3 separate regions of the Homo sapiens genome follow, and regions 1 and 2 are each linked to region 3. Evidence: promoter capture Hi-C in 16 types of primary human blood cells and fetal thymus (Javierre and others, 2016). All regions are on one chromosome and are shown on one strand. The core of a region is centred on a gene start or on the middle of the fragment in contact, and the rest is flanking DNA. Distances in the headings are between cores, read along the strand shown.

Region 1 (2,700 bases), core at 17-2,516, 470 kb before region 3:
TTTGTATTTTAAGTCCTTGACATATGGAAGAGCATTTGTGAGAGTAACAGGTTTGCTTTGTAATGCCAACTAAAAAGTGTGTATTTATACTCGAATTTTAAGTTGAAATTTTGCTAAGTTTCTTTTTTTTTTTTTTGAGACGGAGTCTCACTCTGTTGCCCAGGCTGGAGTACAGTGGTACAATCATTGCTAAGTCTTTCTGTAGTTTTAGAACATTTAGAACAACTTAAGATTTCCTGTATTTATAAACTTAATTTATTGGAAATATAAGTACTTGATCAGGTTTTGTCTTGGTCAGATAAATTAAGTACTTAAGGAAATCAAATACATTAATCATATAAATGCCATTTAAGTGTTTAAAGGAGTTTAGTTAAATGTAAGTTGGATCAAACATTAAACTTTTTTGTTTTATAAGCAAAATAATAAGATTTGTTAGCAGAACTTAAAAGCTTAGAAAAGAGAGGATTTTGGATATGTAACTTTGAAGAGGTGAATAGTTTGCTCTTTTCTGAGACAGGGCATTGCTTTTCGACGCAGGCTGGAGTGCAGTGGGGCAAGCATGGCTCACTGCAGCCTCAACCTCCTGGACTCAAGTGATCCTCCTGCCTCAGCCTCCCATGTAGCTGGGATCACAGGCACATGCCACCACACCTGGCTAATTTTTTATTTTTTGTAGAGACAGGGGCCTCACTTCATTGCCCAGGCGGATCTCGAACACCTGGGCTCAAGCAGTCCTGCCTCAGCCTCCCAAAGTTCTGGGATTACAGGCATAAGCCACTGTGCCTGGCCTTGAATATATTTTTTAACCAAAGTAATTTATGAATATAAATTGTTTCTATATAACCCAAAGTCACTCTCATTGACATTAAGAAACTCAGAGAGTGGGTTCTAAATGTAATATTACCACACACCCAAGTCACTTAGCCTCTACAAGTACCACGTAACTAGCAGCCGTTAAAAGATGGCCACCGCTAGTCCAGTCGGCCACAGACATGGTTTTGTTTGGCCAATACAAGTTTTTGAAAGTTTTAAAAAATTGACAACATTAAAGATCAGAAACTTGACCTAAAAAGATTTCTCTCTTTGGAAAATCAGATCTGGCAGTAATGAAATCGCCTTTCCCATGTGACAGCAGTTGGCTGGAGCTGAAGAGCAACTGCCCCCTTGGCTGTGTTCCTTTCAGTTTGTCAATCTCCACTCTTCACTGTTGTACCCTAGATCTCACTCACGTGACCTGTCTGGCCCACATAGATATTTGAGGGTATGGCCCTGAACTTGAGGCACTCTGGAGTTGCTAACAACTGATGCTGGGCAGCCTAGAATAAGGGCTCAGGAAAAGTGTAGGCCCTACCTCTCTCTGTTCACATCATTCCCCCCTCCAGCCAGGCTGTCTTCCCAGCTGACCTGGCTCCAGGACTGATTCCAACCCCTATAGCAACTGTGTAAGAAGTCCCCAGGCTCAGGCTTCTCAGTGTTCACTGCTCTTGTCTGTGACCAGGCACTTTGCCTAGGCTCTGACCTCATGTCTCAGTCCTTTTGAACATTCTGGTCACCTGCCTAGTTTGACCGCAGCCTGACTTTGGTCTGTGAGGGGTCCTGGGCTCTCTGCTTTATGCAGCCACCATATCTGATCTTTGTGATGTGGTTGTGAATCTTCTGCTTCTATCTCCACCATCACTGTCCACTGCTTGGGCAATATGGTTGCTCAGCTGAGAGATTGGCAGCCCAGATTGCTAAAGGCTTAGGAGACATGAAAGGTGAGTTTGGAAGTGTTTGGATTTTCAAAAGAAGGACAGAGGCAGAAGCCAACCACAGTTTAAGGGGGCAGCTAGTAGAGAGCTTTTTAGGCAAGGGAGGCCACTGCACATTTATAGGCAGAGAAGGTGGCAGGACAGAGAATTTAAGAGAATGAGGTCTCAGAGGAGGCATAGGATGATGGGATATGAAATAGCAAAGGCACACCCAAGGTGATCCTGAAGCTCAGAAATATTAAGTCATGCAGGAGGGGGCACCATTGGAAATATAATCCCCTAAAGTTATGAGTAAACAAATGATGGTGGGGTGTGGAGGGTAGAAAGAAGGCCTAAGCTTGATGTGGGGGCCACAGCCTGGGCAAGAGAAATTTCCAGCAAAGCCTCTGACAAATTTCTGACAAAGCCTCTCATGTTATCTAGTTGTGGCAGAAGCATCTGAACCAAATGGCTAGGAAGCTTGGTGAACAGTCAGACCCAGTGAGGGTTGATTAATGGATCCATGTCAGCCTAGACTAGAGGGAAGTCTCCAGCAGTATGCCTTAGGGCTCAGTCTGGGCCTGTGTCCTCTCTGACATTTTTATTGACAACTGACCGAAGCAGCAGGCTCATCAAGTTTGCAGGTGATAGAGCTAGGAGGGGCAGTTAATACTTTGCATGAAAGAGTCAGGATTCAAAACGATTTCAACAGGCTGGAACACTGGGCTGGAACCAACAAGATTAAACTTAACAGGGATAAATGTAGAGTCCTGCACTTAGGTTAAAACAAAATCAATGACATAAGTACCGGTTGTAGGGGTTGGCCCAGCTTGACAGCAGTTCATGAAGAAAAGACCTGGGGGGTTTAGTTGACTGCAAGCTCAATATGAGTCAACTGTGTGATGTGACTGCTAAAATCCTAACACAGCCATGAATTGCATTAACCAAACGGAGCAGCCAGATCAAGGGA
Region 2 (2,700 bases), core at 89-2,588, 490 kb before region 3:
TATGTTAGGAGCCTGAGGCCTTTACCTAATAAGCTATCTTCCTTACTTTAGCTGTAGAAGGCTGCAACAGGATAGGTGGCTGAATCAGTTAAGATAAACTAGGCTTCAAGCCAGAGCTCGGGCTAGAAACAACAGAGGCTTATTTCTCACTTACTACATGTTGATCATGGGTAATGTCATATTGTTCTTTACATCATCTTACTTGCTCTGGCACCCAGATTGCCCCAGCAGCTACTATCTAGAACTTTGGAGTTGCTGTGGCAGAAGGAAAGAGATGTGGTAGTGGTAACTTGTTCTTAAATTACAGTTGGAAACAACACAAGTCGCTTCTGTGGACATTTCCTTGGCCAGAGCAGCGTAAATAAGCAAGCCTGGCTTCAAGGGGATGTGAAAGAAAACTCGCACACTGAGGGAACCAGCTCTTGGTGAACAGTAATACAATTTACCACAGTGGTCATCAAGGGCCAACGGAGATGTCTCAGGCTCTGCGAGTCTCTGGAGTGAGACTGATTCATCATTCTAGGGTCTGTGGATAGGCTTCTAGGAGTCTGAAATTGTGTGAAAGTTCTGGGTGTATGTGCATTTTTATGGGGAACCTCCGTGGATTCTTTTATTTATTTATTTATGTATTTATATTTTTTGAGATGGTGTCTTGCTCTTGTCACCCAGGCTGGAGTGCAATGGCACGATCTCAGCTCACTGCAACCTCTGCCTCCCAGGTTCAAGTGATTCTCCTGCCTCAGCCTCCTGAGTAGCTGGGACTTCTTCTCCAGGTTCTTTTTTTTTTTTTTAATTTTATTTTTCATCTCACCCTCCTACTCTTTGGATTCTTAAAGGAGTCATTCTGTGACCCAAAAAAGGTTAAGCATCACTTCTTTAAAGAAAAAGTTTGGGGGCCAGATGCAGTGTCTCACACCTGTAATCCCAGCACTTTGGGAGGCAGAAGCAGGAGGATTGCTTGAGCCCAAGAGTTTAAGACCAACCTGGACAACATATTGAGACCTTGTTTCTTTAAACAAAACAAAGAAAAACCAGTAAATTAAAAAATTTGGTGTTGAACATAACTCAATGAAGGATAAGTAAGAATTCAGTTGTATGAGAATCCATGTTGGCTAAAATTTGCCTGACTACATCTGTTCTCTGTGGGAGATGCTGGTATGGATTTGGGCTTGGATTTTCAGATGTGGAGAGGCCATGCCAGGGGCTGTGTGTGCATGCACTAATAGGATTTTCTTCTTGGGGAACATAGGTTGTATCTGCAGCAAACGCTCAATGACACTGTGGGCAGGAAGATTGTCATGGACTTCTTAGGTTTTAACTGGAACTGGATTAATAAGCAACAGGGAAAGCGTGGCTGGGGGCAGCTTACCTCTAACCTGCTGCTCATTGGCATGGAAGGTAAGAAATCTTTCAAAAGCAGCATGGCTTGGAGTCATATGAACCTGATTTCTAATCCTGTCTTCACCGCTTATTAGCTCCATGACTTTGAACAAGCCACTTCACTTTCTTAAGCCTCAGCCTACTCAGCTCTAAAAGAAACATAATAGGGGCTGGATGCCGTGGCTCACGCCTGTAATCCCAGCAGTTTGGGAGGCCAAGGTGGGTGGATGATGAGGTCAGGAGATGGAGACCATCCCGGCCAACATCATGAAACCCCGTCTCTACTAAAATACAAAGAAAACAAATCAGCTGGGCATGGTGGTGCGTGCCTGTAGTCCCAGCTACTCGGGAGGCTGAGAGAGGGGAATTGCTTGAACCCAGGCGGTGGAGGTTGCAGTGAGCCAAGATCACGCCACTGCACTCCAGCCTGGCGACAGAGCAAGACTCTGTCTCAAAAGAAAGAAAAAGAAACATAATAGGGCCAGGCATGGTAGCTCATATTTGTAATCCCAGCACTTTGGGAGGCCAAGGCAGGAGGATTGCTTGAAGCCAGAAGTTTGAGGCTACAGTGAACTATGATTGCACCACTGCACTGCAGCCTGGGCAACAGAGTGAGATCCTATTGCTTAAAAAAGGAAAAATGAAAAGAAATGAAACATGATAATGTCTTGTAAATAGTTGTGAAGTTGTGAAGATTAAATGAAATAATGTATGTCGAGTCTGTTTTTTTTTGTTGTTGTTGTTTTGTTTTTTTGAGACAGAGTCTCACTCTGTTGCCTAGGCTGGAGTGCAGTTGTGTGGTCTCGGCTCACTGCAACCTCCGCCTCCCGTGTTCAAGTGATTCTCCTGCTTTAGCTCCCAAGTAGCTGACACTACAGGCGTGTGCCACCATACCCGGCTTATGTCGAGTCTTTAAGCTAGTTTCGTGTATTCTAAAAAGTTCCCTTTTCCCTTCCTCAGCTGTTATGTGAGTGTGTATACTGAGATATTAGGGACCTCTCTGAAATACAGACATGTGATGCTTAATGTCAGGGATACGTTCTGAGAAATGTGTTGTTAGGTGACTTCATCATTGTGCAAACACCATAGAGTATAGTTACACAAACCTAGATTGTGTAGCCTTCTATATGCCTAGGCTATATGGTGTAGCCTCTGACTAAACCATGTACTACATGGTGTTAGCATATTACTGTGCTGAATATTATAGTCAATTCTAACACAATGGTAAGTATTTGTGTATCTAAACATACCTAAATATAGAAAAGGTATAGTAAAAGTACGGTATCAGATACTGCAGGAAAAAGGTGACAAAAGAAAAAA
Region 3 (2,700 bases), core at 201-2,700:
AGAGAGGCCAGTTCAATCCCCTGCCTTGTCCACCAGGGGCTAGCATACCACACGCATGCCTGTCCCTGCTGCCATGGCCTTCTTTCCCTCCTCTGACCCTTCTACGACCCTGGACCCCTGCAGGATTGGCCTGGAGGAGAGGCCAAGGGCAGGTGAGGAAGAGTGTATGGGTTCCCAGGCGGCCTGCCACCTCCCTGTGACTCCCATCTCTTGAATTCCCCCAATCATACTGGCTCTGCCTCCTCCTGCTGAGTTCCCATTGTCCCCTACCCCCACCCTCCCCAACCCAGGCCAGTGGCTGGGTCCCGCCCCTACCTTCGATGGGGGAGTTGATGAGGATGACGCGTCCCATGGGCGATGAGGCTCGGATTCCGCGGGGGGGCCCGTTCAGCAGCCGTTGTTGCTTCCTTAGCAGGTATCGCGTTGCGGTGGAGCCTGAGTCGCTGCCTAGGTGGCCTCGGGAGGAGAGGGAGCTCAGAGAGCCGGAGCTCAGGTCTCCTAGGCCCAGTGGGTCGAAGCCCACTGCGAAACCCTGCGCCATGGCGGCTGGGCTAGGGCGGCACCCTACAGGTCCAGAAGGAATCTGCTAGCTCTGGAGAGGCCAGCCCTGCGTGCTTCGAGCTCCATGAGCCTCTGTGCGGGGCTGGGGTCTCAGTAACGTGAAGGCCCTCGCTTGCGATGCCTCTCAGAAGTGTGAGCTCCAGGCCTGGGCAGGGAGAGCAGGGATGAGGGAGGGGTGTAAATGTTTCCCCTGCTGCCCCCTAAAACTTCCACCCCTCCCCCTGGTTTAAGCATCCTGCCCTCCCATGCCTTAGGCCCCCCTCCTGTCTCACCCTAGGCCAGAGAACTGCCCCGTCCAGGCACCATCTTGGACTCTCGCTGACTTTATACAAGGCAGGTGGGAACCTTTCACCCCTCATTCCTGCTCGGGGCTGAGTCATCTACTCCCGTCCCCAGTCCTCAGTAGAGGTTGAGAGTGGAGTTGGGATTACTGCGGGCCCTGGGGCTTAGAGAGGTGTGAGACAAAAGAGAGGTCAGGACAGCTCATGGCATCACCTCTCTCATGCATATGCGGGCATGGAGGTGGCCCGGGGTGGGGCGGGGGCTGCGTGGGGCGGGCTGGGCCTCGAGGATAGGGCTTCAGGACCTTAGACAGCTGAGGCCCAGGAAGACCCCCAGACACCCGCGGGCTCCAGGCTGCGGCTCCGGGTCTAAAGAGGCTGCATGAACCTCTCCCAAGCTTTGGGGAGGATCTGCTGGAGAGGGGTCCCACGACATCCCGCGCAAAACCCAGGGCCAGTTCCCTCAGAGAAGCTCTGGGACCTAGAATGAAGCACCCCAACATCAACTCGGCCCTCCAGGCCCCCCACCCCTTTGTGCCTGGTCGGCCTCACCTGGTCGCTGGTGTGGCGCCGCCAGCCTTGTCAAACCACCCGCAGGCGAGAGCTACTGCCGCAGCCGGCAAACCCCACCCACGCTGCGCGGAGGCTGCGGGAATTGGGCTGGCCTGCACCGCCCCGGGCTCCCATTGGCTGGTAGGGCCGCCAGTCATTCTATTCCGGCACCTCCCTTAGGCGCCAGGGACAGCCGAGCGTTACCTGGTCCCGGGCAGCGGAGTTCTTTACCCACCCCAGTTCTGGTTCTGACGCCCTAGCTCATTCCGCAAATTTAGGGCTTGGGTCTGGCTTGTTCCCCTCCGGCTCGAACCACCTCTTCTCTGAGCCGAGCCAGCTACCGGGGCTCCTGGAATTGCCACCCCTCCCTGGGCACCCTTGAGGCCTCCGTGGAGGGACGTCACGGGGCAGAGCGGGACGTGAGCCTGAGTTTGCTGCAGGCGTGCTCTGTGTGGTGGCTGGGTGAGTTGTGAGTATGTGCGTGGCGGAGGGGGTGCCTTCTTCACTTGCATCCTCCTCCTCTGTCAGAAGGCGTCTCTGGCTACCCAGTTCTGGAATGGTCGCAGGGTGGGGCAGCTGGTCCCAGGACCGGAAGAATCCTAAGAATCCTTCTGATGCACTTGCTCGGATGCAGACCGCGAGGTTCCTGGGGTCGTCTGCCCCTCCACATCTCAGGGGTGGGGCTACGGTCTGGGGTGCAGGGCTAGGGGTTGGGAGCGTAAGGAGACCAGGGACACAGTGGAGCTAGGGGTTACAGAGGGGGAGCAGGGAGAGGGCTGGGGACATAGAAGAGGCACAGGCACGACAGGAACGGGGCTGTGAAGTGATGCGAATGCCGCGCTGCTACAAGAGGAGCTTGTGGATACTGGGGTAGGAGCCCAGGGGGACAAGCAAGCCAAAGGCCATTGCCAAGGCAGCCATCAAGTAAACAAGCCAGGCGGTAACCCGAGTCCCTCCCGGCGCGCCAGCAGAGGACCGCCCCTCCACACCGCCCACCTGCGCCCGGGGCTTTCTCTCTGGGCACCTAGACCGCTTGCTGCAGGGCTGGGGGTCTGCTGAGGCCCGCCAGGGGACTGTAAACCAAGGGAGCAGCGCCCGCGGCTCCAGCCCCTCCTCCCTTTGGCTGGGGAGGGGGCCAGAACTGATCCCCGAGGTGGGATTGGCTCTGGGAAGCAGCTTAGGGCCTGGTCCAGGTGGCCCAGGCTGGGGGCATCGCCTCGAATGACACCCACCGCCCTCAGGTTCTGCCAATCCCCGTGCCCACCGGGTGGGCGCGGCCGGGAAGCTCCTGCCCCTCCCTGCTGGT

The links. The method cuts DNA at HindIII sites, captures the fragments that hold promoters and counts their contacts. A CHiCAGO score of 5 or more calls a contact.
Region 1: a fragment that was not itself captured here is called in contact with the fragment with the promoter of PDZD7 in region 3 in 1 of 17 cell types (fetal thymus); the score reaches 5.2 in fetal thymus.
Region 2: a contact is called between a fragment that was not itself captured here and the fragment with the promoter of PDZD7 in region 3, in 2 of 17 cell types (total CD4 T cells and non-activated CD4 T cells). The highest score is 5.3, in total CD4 T cells.

Annotation. Positions count from the first base shown.
Region 1 is chr10:100,558,927-100,561,626 of GRCh38, forward strand. It overlaps HIF1AN (hypoxia inducible factor 1 subunit alpha inhibitor), which reads left to right. Exons shown (of 8, transcript NM_017902.3): 8 at 1-1,072. Among named protein-coding and RNA genes, the nearest start is that of HIF1AN, 24 kb to the left of the region's middle. The HindIII fragment of the contact is 1,639 bases long and covers 448-2,086 here.
Region 2 is chr10:100,539,385-100,542,084 of GRCh38, forward strand. It overlaps HIF1AN (hypoxia inducible factor 1 subunit alpha inhibitor), which reads left to right. Exons shown (of 8, transcript NM_017902.3): 3 at 1,250-1,398. Among named protein-coding and RNA genes, the nearest start is that of HIF1AN, 4.8 kb to the left of the region's middle. The HindIII fragment of the contact is 8,099 bases long and covers 1-2,700 here.
Region 3 is chr10:101,029,679-101,032,378 of GRCh38, forward strand. PDZD7 (PDZ domain containing 7) reads right to left here and starts at 1,451. Exons shown (of 17, transcript NM_001195263.2): 1 at 1,395-1,451; 2 at 316-706. The coding sequence starts at 541. It overlaps SFXN3 (sideroflexin 3), which reads left to right and starts at 1,556. Exons shown (of 12, transcript NM_030971.6): 1 at 1,556-1,856; 2 at 2,636-2,700. RefSeq lists an enhancer at 1,869-2,078. The HindIII fragment of the contact is 3,909 bases long and covers 1,239-2,700 here.